Linked DNA regions of Homo sapiens: regions 1, 3 and 4 are each linked to region 2. The links are contacts of gene promoters, found by promoter capture Hi-C in blood cells and fetal thymus (Javierre and others, 2016). All regions are on one chromosome and are shown on one strand. Each heading gives the region's core, a stretch centred on a gene start or on the middle of the fragment in contact. The rest is flanking DNA. Distances are from core to core; before and after follow the strand shown.

Evidence for each region. The method cuts DNA at HindIII sites, captures the fragments that hold promoters and counts their contacts. A CHiCAGO score of 5 or more calls a contact.
Region 1: a fragment that was not itself captured here is called in contact with the fragment with the promoter of G6PC2 in region 2 in 1 of 17 cell types (total CD8 T cells); the score reaches 5.8 in total CD8 T cells.
Region 3: a contact is called between a fragment that was not itself captured here and the fragment with the promoter of G6PC2 in region 2, in 3 of 17 cell types (erythroblasts, naive CD8 T cells and naive CD4 T cells). The highest score is 8.4, in erythroblasts.
Region 4: a contact is called between a fragment that was not itself captured here and the fragment with the promoter of G6PC2 in region 2, in 4 of 17 cell types (neutrophils, naive CD8 T cells, fetal thymus and 1 more). The highest score is 5.6, in neutrophils.

Annotation. Positions count from the first base shown.
Region 1 is chr2:168,298,770-168,301,959 of GRCh38, reverse strand. No RefSeq gene overlaps it. Among named protein-coding and RNA genes, the nearest start is that of STK39, 53 kb to the right of the region's middle. The HindIII fragment of the contact is 2,990 bases long and covers 112-3,101 here.
Region 2 is chr2:168,899,973-168,903,190 of GRCh38, reverse strand. G6PC2 (glucose-6-phosphatase catalytic subunit 2) reads right to left here and starts at 1,900. Exons shown (of 5, transcript NM_021176.3): 1 at 1,642-1,900; 2 at 637-746. The coding sequence starts at 1,859. The HindIII fragment of the contact is 12,445 bases long and covers 1-3,218 here.
Region 3 is chr2:168,350,253-168,353,144 of GRCh38, reverse strand. The region is part of intron 2 of LOC105373734 (a long non-coding RNA gene); the gene reads left to right. Among named protein-coding and RNA genes, the nearest start is that of STK39, 100 kb to the right of the region's middle. The HindIII fragment of the contact is 9,034 bases long and covers 1-2,892 here.
Region 4 is chr2:168,321,540-168,324,542 of GRCh38, reverse strand. No RefSeq gene overlaps it. Among named protein-coding and RNA genes, the nearest start is that of STK39, 75 kb to the right of the region's middle. The HindIII fragment of the contact is 1,299 bases long and covers 784-2,082 here.

The DNA of each region.
Region 1 (3,190 bases), core at 357-2,856, 600 kb after region 2:
ATGTAAAATTTGTATGTTCTGGCTGAATATCATTTTTATTTTTAGACATATGTGTTGGAAAAAGGGTACCAATTTGTTTTCAATGCTTAGAGGCTCTAAAAGAGACAAGCTTAGTGGGTATCATCCCACCCGGAGGAGATATAATTGTACCATCATTTCAGGCCACGTTGCTCAGGCAATAGTGCATTTCAGTTCTGATGTAATCAATATATGTTCTCAGCCATGCCAGCCAGGGACTCAGAGGAAAGAGAATTCCTGAGGAATTAGTGCTGACTACCCCACACATACCCCTGGGTTTCAGGCCGCTACAGAGATGCCCTTAGGTATTCCTGACAAATCAGGTCTGTAGTGTCTCTGCTGTTGCTGGAAGAACTCATTCATAGATCTTGCTAATGTACCACAGCTCGGCTCCTAAGGGATTTCACCCACTCAGGCTGCGCCAAGTGGGGAAGGTGTGAGTACACTGGGTCACCCTTTTCTGCAACTAGCATGCCTGCGTTTCAATGAACACTTTCTTCTCCTCTGTTAGCTGCTACTTTCTATCTTCATCAGTAGATTCTCAACCACATAAAATGAGCAATTGTCCTCTGAGGGCTTTTAACACACATTAAATTCTTTTTTTTTTTTTTTTTTTTGAGACAGAGTCTTGCTCTGTCACCCAGGCTGGAGTGCAGTGGCAGGATCTCGGCTCACTGCAATCTCTGCCTCCCAGGTTCAAGCAATTATTCTGCCTCAGCCTCCCAAGTAGCTGGGACTACAGGCGCGTGCCCACCACCCCTGGCTAATTTTTGTGTTTTTAGTAGAGACAGGGTTTGACCATATTGGCCAGGCTGGTGTCGAACTCCTGACCTTGTGATCCACCTGCCTCGGCCTCCCAAAGTGCTAGGATTACAGGCGTGAGCCACCGTGCCTGGCCACATACATCAAATTCTATGATTGATTTTATGTGCTGAAAGAAAGTTCTGTCTCCCACCAAGAGTTCAAAACATAGTCACTTTCCAAGTCTCTCAACCTTCAACCCCGTAAAAAAAAAAATATAAAATCTCTTTTAGCAAAACAACCCAGAATGTTAGTTTTATTTAAATAGACAAGAACGATGTCTTAAGTGAAACTATTGTGATGCTAGCAAAAGAGACATAGAGTTTTTCAATCCAAGTAACACCAGGGATGTGAATGGCCACTTTCCTCCTAAATTCTGGTCTTGGTTACAAGATATTTATGATACGAGTCTTATACAATGAATGCAGGCAATGATTCAGTTGACTTAATCTGGCAAGATTTTCCTTACGCATGATTATGAGTTTGGGACTTGAGCCAGCAATCAAAAAGGATTGTAAATTTAAATGATTACATCATCTAATAAAGTCTTATTTTTGGCTAGGACAGAGGCACCTTCTTCAAAATTTATTCTGAATACATTAGAGTCATTCTAGCTGTGTGACCTTGGGAAAATTACCTAATCTTTCTGCAGCTCTCTTTCTTCATCTGTGGAGTGAATAAATTATAATATCTACCTCATGGGCGTATTGTGTTAGTCTGTTGTCACACTGCAATCAAGACACAACCTAAAACTAGGTAATTTATAAAGAAAGGAGGTTTAATTGACTCACAGTTCCACATGTCTGGGGAGGCCTCAGGAAACTTACACTCATGGTGCAAGGCAAAGGGGAAGCAAGGCACGTCTTACACAGTGGCAGGAGAGCGGAAGTGCACAGGGGAATCTGCTACTTTTAAACCATCAGATCTCCTGAGAGCTCCCTTACTATCAGAACAGCATGGGAGAAATTGCCCCCATGGTACAATCGCTTCCCACCAGGTGCCTCCCTCTACAAGTGGGAATTACAATTCGAGATGAGATTTGGGTGGGGACACAGAGCCAAACCATATCATTTACTAAACAAGTTAACATATGTAAGGCATTTTGGCTCCCTGGCACAGGTAGAGTCTATATTAGGTATTATTGTGATTACTATTGCTAGTATTATTAGATTGATAGAGTGAAGCTGAAAAGATTTTACATTTATTTGAACTCATGTAATTATCTAGCTAATACAATTTCCACTTAAAGAATTTTGAAAGACATATTTTGTGTATTTAAACATTTTCCAAATAACTATCTTAAATCAAATATAAACCCCTTCAAGGAATAATTTCTTTTTAGAAGAAAAATATTTTGCAAATGAATGACTTATCTTTGGAGGATGAAGGTAGACCTAAAAATGGGAGAGAGAGGCTGGGTGTGGCGGCTCACACCTGTAATCCCAGCACTTTGGGAGGCCAAGGTGAGTGGATCACCTGAGGTCAGGACTTTGAGACCAGCCTGGCCAACATGGTGAAACCCCCTCTCTACTAAAAATACAAAAAAAATAGCCGGGGATGGTGGTGGGTGCCTGTAATCTCAGCTACTCAGGAGGCTGAGGCAGGAGAATTGCTTGAACCCAAGAGGTGAAGGTGGCAGTGAACCGAGATCGCGTGGGTGACAGAGAGAGACTCCATCTAAAAAAAAAAAAACAAAAAAACAAAAGTAAAGACACTAAATGAAAAATGTTGATATGAGCTCATAATTACTACTCGGGTCTTAAAGTTTTGTTTTTCATTGACCTGCATGAAGGTAGCCACATTTAAATACCTTGGAGATTTCTCACATATATTTTTTGTTTACCTCAATATCCCTTCGGTAATCTAAAAATCATTTTAAAATACTCTTTTAAGTTATAAGATATCTCTTGGAAAAATTATTTCTGTTTTAAAAATTAACAACCTTAGAATTTATGCTGTTTGCCATGACAGAGTGTTGGTACTAGACTAGTTCTCCTGTGGTAAAACACTAGAAAACTGGGGGAAGGATCTGAAACAACTGTCTTCAGATACCGGACTGCAGGCAGCACAGGACCAGTATCCCTGAAAGAAGGAAAACAAGCAAGGTAAATCCTACATTACCTAGATTTGTCACGTAGAGGCACCCTCCAGGCCCTCTTACAGAGAGTGCAAACTGAAGCAAAGCACAGGGTCTCACTGAGCTAAAAAGACAGATTTTAGGGAGGCTGAAGTGGCAGGAATTTGTGGCATGCAACTACACAGAATAAAATCTCCAGAAAGCTTCAGAGCAGTCCCTTTGAATCTTGGCTGAACATTAATGTGTGCATGCACAGAGTGAGACTCACTGAGGCCAGGCAAAGAGAACTACCGG
Region 2 (3,218 bases), core at 651-3,150:
TTTCAAAAAACTTTTTAAAACAGTCTTAGAATCAACTATCACAATAAAGATTTTATACTCATACAGAATCTTACCTAGAATAAAAAAGAAGTGGCCCAAGAAGCCTACTTGTGTACAGAGAAAAAATATGTTTTAAAGAGATTGTTCTAGGGTTAGAAATAGTCTTTACTGGCTATAGTAACATTGAGAAGTCCTTACCTTTCTTACAGAAGACTTGTCTACTCCTCCCTCATTCGTGAGATACTCGGAAGACCTATAGTAACTTTGAAAGTTGCTTAGCAGCAGATTAACCAACATTTCTAAGATCTTAGTCTAGTTCCTTGAGAATTTGTTCTAGTTAACTGTTTCTTGTTTTAGTATCAAGTCATTATATTCTTCTGAAAAGTAAACACCAAATATTTAATCACTGGGGGAGTTTTCTCCCAATCTACCCTTTCATAAATAACAAAATGGAATTTGAGTATTTTTTTTGCTTTGCTTCCTCATTAGTAATTTTGATTGTTATGAAGTTTTAGCATCCTCACTCATGAGATTTTCTTTACTACCCTATATAATATCAGTTCCTAGATGATAACCCTGTGTAATGATTCTCTATTGGAAGATCTTCAGTAACTGGAGCCTGCTGTAATAGCTTACCTGGACCTGTTTCACATGTAGTAGGGAACTGTTCAAGGCATGGACTTGAGTGATTTGGGTAAATCTGAGTTTCTTGGACCCACCAGTAAGGTCGATGACCAAATAATATCCTGTATTTAAAGAATTATAAACATGCATATATATTTAAATACACAGCTATTATTTAATTGGAGATTAGCAATTCTTTCCTATAAAAAATGACTCAAGCGCAGGGTTAATTGTGAAAGTTCATGATTAAGAGACTTTGAAAAAACTTAGGTCTTGGTCTCTCACACATTATTAAAGGTGGTAGCCATTTGGTATTTTGGCACCCTGGTTTCCCATGAACATGGGGGCTTTTTTCCCTTGCAGGGAATGTCTTATGGGTGCTTTGGATACTTAGACTGGAAATATCAAAATTTGTCCCTAGAATTATCAATTTGTTCATTATCACGCTGCTCATGTAAGTAATTCTTAATCACAGAATATGTGTTACAGGGGTTTGGGAATTACTTATAAGTCATTAAAGTACACATTTCTGGCCTGGCGTGGTGGCTCACACCTGTAATCCCAGCACTTTAGGAAGCCGAAGTCGGTGGATCACCTGAGGTCGGGAGTTAGAGACCAGCCTGACCAACATAGAGAAACCCTGTCTCTACTAAAAATACAAAATTAGCTGGGTGTGGTGGCACATGCCTGTAATCCCAGCTACTCGGGAGGCTGAGGTGAGAGAATTGCTTGAACCTGGGAGGCAGAGGTTGCAGTGAGCCGAGATCACGCCATTGCACTCCATCCTGGGCAACAAGGGCAAAACTCTGTCTCAAAAAAAAAAAAAAAACAAAAACATATATATACATTTCTGTGCCTTTTAAAAGTTCTACTTATGAATCTGGTGTTTCAAGTTACCTGGTATTTTTGAAAGATTTTCCAAGTAAAACGATATACATCTGAAATGTGATCATTATGCCGAAGTCACAAATTTAAGGATAAATCTTAGGAAAAAATGAAATAAAACAGAAATCTTACCATTTAAATATAAGATTTAACCAATCCCCAATGACTGCTACCCATATCATCTTGGTTCCAACTGTCTGATTAAATTGAAAACAAAGTGGAAAATAAATGAAAAAGATATTCCTGGGGTCTCCAACATTGGACATAAAATTTAGAAAAGTGTAGTAAGCTCGGTAGTCCTTCTGCAAATGCTGAATTATGAGCACTCCATTCCTGTGAAGGAAATCCATCTTGAAAAAGAGGCAATTCTAAACATAGAGCAATTGGAGCTGAAGTGCTCTGATTCCCACCGTTTTTATACTGTGCCTTTGTGGCATGTCGAGCCATTACTGCAACATGTGATGCTGACCATCTGTGGAGAGGGCACACCAGCCCTCCTCTGCTGAATAGCTCATCTATTTATGATTTTAATTGGTGGCAAAGAGTGAAGTACATGCTGATCTGTGGCAATTCGAGGGGGAAATTTGGATAGAAACACAATGAATTTCTTATGCAACCTCCCTTTTGTGCGAACAGTTGGATCATGTTTGCTTGAAATTTTTTGTACAGTTCATTTCCTCCAAGGTCAGACATTAGCAATTTCTATGTTTGGTGAAAAGACTTTGCAAATAATTATTGCATGTCAAATAGCCCATAAAGCCCTGCATTTTAATTTAAGATAGGCTGTGGCTCTCTATTTTATTGGGTCTTTGAGGAAAATGGTTGAATAAATATCTGGGTATGAAAAATATATGATATGACAGATTATGTTCTGATCACTGATTTAAAATAAGAATAGTTCAATTTTCTTTATCCAAGAGAATGATAGAATATATATGGAACAGGGAAAGAAATGTGTTGTTTTTTGACTATAAGACAAGAAAGCAGAAATGAAAGTCATTTGGATAATAGAAATGTGTTAGGATCAAATTGTATCTTTTATTAACTAGAGAATACAGTTGAGAGGAATAGGGAATGATTCATGTGACAAAGATAGGAATAGACATCAAAGGGCTTTTGACCAATCAGGAAAATGGTTTGTTGAGAACAGAGTGTTAAACAGAAGTGGAAAGCACCAAACAAATGCTAAGAATGAACAGAAGGGTAGCGCAAAGAGGCTGTGGATCTAAGTCATAGGTCCATAATCTACGGCTGTGGACTATGACTAGACTATAGACCAGGACTCTGGTCCTGGACTATAGACTACGACTGGACCCTGGACTATGGACCAGGGTAGACTGAGAATGAACAGAAGGGTAGCACAAAGAGGCTATGGATCTAAGTCAGAGAGATGTTGGGTTTAGAGAGCTGGATTGTGTCTAGGATTAGTGGGAAAGCAACAAAGCCTCACAAGGTGGCCAGGGATGGATCTAGGTAACCTTACTTGTTATTTTGTCATTCAGATTTTTGTCTTTGCTTACCATGGCCTAAGTAAAGACAAAAGACTTCACTAGAGTCCTTCACAGGCTATAACTATCACTTTGAACTTCTCTTCGAGTTTTGTGTCCCATCATTTAACAGCACCATTGTTACTGGGCTTCAGTGTCTATTGGTACCTTACCTGGAAGAAATGCATTGACTGACCATTAACATCTTTTGGGGTGCTTTTT
Region 3 (2,892 bases), core at 366-2,865, 550 kb after region 2:
GTATATGCATAAGTCAAAATTTTTCAAATTTTACATTTTAAGTACTTGCAGTATATGAGAGTTTGGGTTTCTCCACATCCTCCTCAATATTTGGTGTGGTCAGTCTTTCTAATTTTGTTAATTTAATGGATATGTGGTGATATCCATGATAGTTTGAATTTGCATTTCCATAATAACTACAGATGTTGAACATCTTTTCCTGTGCTTATTTGCTACCAATATACTTTCTTTGGTGAAGTGTCTATTTAAATTTTCTTCCTTTTTCATTTGTTTTTTTCTCCTATTGTTGAATTTTGAGAGTTTTTAGATATTTTTGATAAAAGTTATTTATCAGATACATGATTTGCAAATATTTTCACCCAGTATGTGCTTTTGGTATTTTGTGCAAGAAATCTTTGCTTAACCCAAGGCTGCAAAAATGTTATCATATGTTTTCTTCTAGAAGTATTATAGTTTTTGGATTTTACACTTAGGTCTATTGTTCACTTTGAGTTAATTTTTGTATATGGTACAACATGTGGATCAAAGTTCATTTATTTTGCACATAGATATTCCCTTTTTTCCAGAACCATTTGTTGAAAGGCTACATTTTTGTCCAAGAACTGGGCTTTAAACTTTGTCAACAACCAAGTTTTCATTTATGTTTGGGTCTGTTTCAGGACTCTATTCTGTTCCCTTGGTCTACTTGTCTAACTTGACTCCAGTACCACAGTATCTTGCTGTAGCTTTATAAACTTTGAAATCAGGTAATTTTTAGTGTTCTCAACTTTTTCCTTCTTTTCAAAATTGTTTTAACTAGTCTAGGTCCTTGGTATAGCCATATAAATGTCAGAATCAGCTTGTCAATTTGTACCAAAAAAGTGTGCCAAGATTTTGATTGAGATTGTGTTTAATCTATAGACCAATTTGAGGATAATTTTAACTTAGCAATATCAAGTCTTCAATACCATGATATCTTTATTTATTTAGATCTGCTTTAATTTATTTTGGCAATGTTTTGTAGCTTTCAGCATATAGGTCTTGCACATATCTTGTCAAATTTACATCTATGTATCATATTTTTATGCTACTGTAAGCAGCATTGTTTTATTTAAATTTCTGATAGTTTGTTGCAGGTACATAGAAACGCAACTGATTCTTGCTTGCTGATCCTGTATCCAGCAACCTTGCTCATTTATTAGTTTTAGGAGCTTTTTAAGATTTGCTCAGATTTCCTATGTAAGCTATCACATTATCTGGGAATAAAGGGAGTTTTACTTCTTCCTTTCCAATCTGAACATCTGTTATTCTTTTTTCTTTTTTTTTTTTTTTCATTATTGCCCAAGCTAGAGTCTCAAGCACACTTAAATAGAAGTGGTGAGAGCAGACATTCTTGTCTTGGTCCTGACCTTAGTGGGAGAGTATTCAGTATTTCATCATTAAGTATGATGTATGGCTATAGTTTATTTCATAGATTCCCTTTATCAGGTTAAAGACATTCCCTTCTTATCCAAATTTGCTGAGAGATTTTTAATGAGAAACAGATGTCATGTTTTGTCAAATGCTTTTCTGTGCCTATTTGGTCTGTTTATATGGTGAATTACATTAAGTTGATTTTCAAATGTTAAATTCTTGGATTCCTCAGATAAATAGCATGTGGTCATGTTGTAGCCTTCTTTTTCTAAATTATTACATATGATTCCCAAAGTGGTTGTTTTTTTTTTTTTTTTTTTTTTTTTTTGAGACGGAGTCTCACTCTGTCGCCCAAGCTGGAGCGCAGTGGCCTCGCTGCAAGCTCCGCCTCCCAGGTTCACACCATTCTCCTGCCTCAGCCTTCCAAGCAGCTGGGACGACAGGCGTCCGCCACTATGCCCGGCTAATTTCTTTTGTATTTTTAGTAGAGATGGGGTTTCACCGTGTTAGCCAGGATGGTCTCGATCTCCTGACCTCGTGATCCGCCCATCTCGGCCTCGCAAAGTGCTGGGATTACAGGCGTGAGCCACCGCGCCTGGCCAGCACACACCTCTGTTTTAAAGTAAAAAGCACAAAACAAAGTAAATCCAGAAAAGGATTGCTTTCATGTGCTTTCTACCCCATTTCCTCCCTCCCTATATAAGAGGTAATTGTTTTTGTCAGATTTTGTCTCATCCTTTCATTGTTAATTTTTGAAAATATAAGCAAATACAATTATATAGTTCCTTAACCAAAAGATAGCACACAATAAACACAGTTCTGCTCTGCTTGTAGGTTAGAATTTTGATTCCTGTTAAATTGCAACTCTTCTAGGAAAAATAAGGAGGTACATGTTAAATAAAGAGGTGCATGTTAAACTATCACTAGTTTCACACTTTGGTAGAAATTAGTTTCCTTGTCTTTTTTGAGAGCTGGGAAGTGTCTGAATGAGATTGAAAAGTTTCCTTTGAGAATAGGGATGAATTCAGGAATCTCGGAGCGTCACAAGCAAACTTCACTTTTACTTGGCATCAGAGGAGTGGGAAGGCAGGTGCTGGCAACCTGTTGAGGTGGCAAGGCTGCATGGATGAGTGCTCAAGTGCTGGCTTATACAGTATAAATCCAGCTACTTTCATTGTTATAAAACTGCTGGCCATCAGAGGGGGTAATTAGAGTTTTATGTTTTAGTTGGACTTCTCAGCTGAATTAAATGTGATAAGGCTGTGCTTATCACTCTTGTGAAAGTCATTTCTACAATATTTACACAAACTCTATGAGACTTAAATCTTTTATTGATTTTCTGTTTGTCTCTGATAATGTTTCACTGAGAGGAAATGACTGAGATCCTGGAATTCGCGTCTTTAACACATGACTGTTCCCAAAGTCATGAGTTGTTGTTGTTGTTGTTGTTGTTAACAAACCTCTTTATTTCCTACAATAAGTATATTCCATCTTGCATTT
Region 4 (3,003 bases), core at 184-2,683, 580 kb after region 2:
GAGACAAGGTTTCACATTATCAGCCAGGCTGGGGTGCAGGGACACACTCACTGCAGCCTCAACTTCCTGGGCTTTAGCAATCCTCTCACCTCAGCCTCCCAAGTAGCTGGGACTACAGGCATGTGCCACCACACCCAGCTATTTTTTTTATTTTTGTGGAGACAGGCTCTTACTATGTTAGTCTGAAACTCCTGAGTTCAAGCGATTCTCCCACCTTAGCCTCCCAAAGTGCTGGGATTATAGACATAAGCTACTGCGCCTAGCTGGATGGTTCCTTTTCTATGAGCCATTTGGCCATTTATCCTGCACTAACTCCTCTGTGTCTTGCACATAACTGGTAACGACTAAATTTTATTGATCTGAGTAGATTTGATTTACCGCTACTGGATTTAAAAGGCAGCTGAGGAACTCAAACTATAGCCCTGGTCCCTTCAGACCTGCTGAAGCTCCATATTTTTAATATACTCCCAAGTTATCGATAAGGATAACAAGACACTTCCGACAGAAATGCAGCCGTGATTTACCACCCCTGAACCAAAGGTGGATAGTGTGAAACGGTGTGAAAGTCAATTAGGTAGCACCCAGATGAATGTTCATTTCAGGAAATGAGTGAGGCTCAGCTGTAGCAACAGATGAGGAGTAGGGTGGAGAAGACAGATCCTTCCCTGCATCCACCAGAGGGAAAGGAGAGAACTAAAACACAGGTGCGAGCCTTTTGTTCTTTGGCGCATTCCCTGTGGGTTTATGGAGATGTCTGGGAGCACTTCCTTTTCCTTTCAAGCTTTATGACACACGTAATCTAAAACGATGGGGCAGCTTCCTTGCGATGACTCAAAAAGGAATAAGTAGTAAATTTCGTGTAGGAGGGTCGGCTAGGTTCAGTTAGACTTGCTACAAAGCCTGTGAGAACAAACAGTGGGAAAGTGAGATTTCATTTTTCCCCGAGATGCTGAAGAGTCTCCGTATCCCATAGGGAATGCTGTAATGTGTTCGTAATGGGAATATCTATCTTTATGTTCAAGTGTTGCCTAATTCACTAGCAAACAGGGAGGGAAATGCTTTTCTACACATAACTCCATAAGAGGATTCATTAGAAATACTGTTTTAGAATTAATGAAATGCTGAATGATTTTCCATCCTTCTTCCTAATAGTTGGTTAATGAGGATGAAAAGCAATTATTTTTTATAACACATTTTCATGTAATCGGTGGCTAAGTGTACTCAGTAGAGAATAATGAATATACCAGTTTGCAGTGAGTTTCTTTGAATGGAAACAGTAGAATTGGGAAGACTGTGGAAAATTTTACCCTTTAGGCTACAAGCACAAATTTTCCTCCATCAATCATTATATGTGATTTCCAATATGTTCAGTATTGAAAGTGGGTATTATTATTCCTTTAAAAAGGCATAATTCTTTGAGATCTCTGCATTTGGGATGAGTTTATAGTGTTGCTGCAAATTTGAAGGCTGAAAACAGTGATAGGAAAAACATGTTTGTTTTTTAAAGTTGGCTATTTTTAGCTATGTAGGCTAAATGAAAAGGCAATCATATTTAAAATTATGCTACCATGTTTTTCTTTGATGTATGAAAGAAAGCTGTTCACTAAATGAAATTCACAACTAGTCAGTGCAGGTGGGGGGCAGGGAACTTTTTAGTCTAAGAAAATGTTTCAAATCTTCAGGCCAAGATGCTCATGAGGAGGACAATCTCCCAGTGTTTACAGACTGTGATCACAACCGCCAATAATCATTTGGAACCTTCTAGGAAACTACTCTGGTTTATGTCCCTGAAGACTAATTTCTAGCTTCTAGAAAACGGTGTGAAATGTACACTAGAATATTCAGACCACTTACTAGTTTCTGTTGATCTTTTTAATATAACTATTTTCATAATTACATTTATATCGCTTTAAGGCTCTCCTTTCACCCTCCCCACCCACCTCCAATATTCTCTTGAAGTTCTTTCTGCTGTTGATGGAGAGTATTCTGCCTGGGGAGCTGTCTGATTCAAAGCCAAGTTTGGAGTTGTACAAAGGAGGGGCCATGGGTGTTTACTGCAGATGTAGGGATCAAGGGAAAGCTTCTCCTCTGCCTTCTGAAGGTTTGCTGAAAATGAACTCAAAATAGGCAGATTAATGGGAAAAAAACCTGGACTGAGTAGTTTGGGTTTCATTTACTGAAAACAGCTTCCTGTCATGCATCAAAGAAAAAAAAAGTGTAGCATAATTTTAAATACAAATTTGTGGATGTACATGGACACAGAAGCCTTGCAAATATGAGACTCAGAGAAGGGCCAGATTATTGAGGCTTAAATACCCTCTTCATATTGTCACCGCCTTCATAATATTGTGACAGAGAAATCTGACATAGCCGACCCCATCTTGCTTCTAACCTCCAAGCTGTTCTTATTCATTCCTGGGCGTAGATCAAACTAACTTGGGGAGGGATTTAGTTTTTAGTTTAACCTTAAAGCAAGGATGATAATAGCCCTTCCCAAAACTGCCCCCTTCTTGTTTGGGGACCAAAACCACCTTTATAAAACCAATGAAAGGCTACAAGACTAGGATTATGGGAATGGCCTGAACTCTGCTAAAATACGGGTGTAGTTAAAGGATAATCAGCCATTGTTGCCAGAGGTCACAAGATTTGTAACCTCCCCAACTGTTTCTGTAGATAGCATCACTATTTTAAAACCTAAAATTGGTGTTTGAGGTATTTTTCAGACACTGCATTCTGATGGAACAGCTTTTGCCACCCATACTGGTAACCCATACCAAGAAACTGGCTTATTTGGTCTTCTGATCCCACCCAGGAATTGATTCAGTACAAGAAGACAGCTTCAGCCTCCTATGATTCCATCCCCAACCCAACCAATCATCATTTCCTACCCCCTAGACCCCTACCCACCAAACTATCCTTGAAAAACCCTAGCCTCTGAATTTTCAGGGAAGCCGATTTGGATAATAAACTTCTGTCTTCCACATGGCTGACCCTCCATTAAAC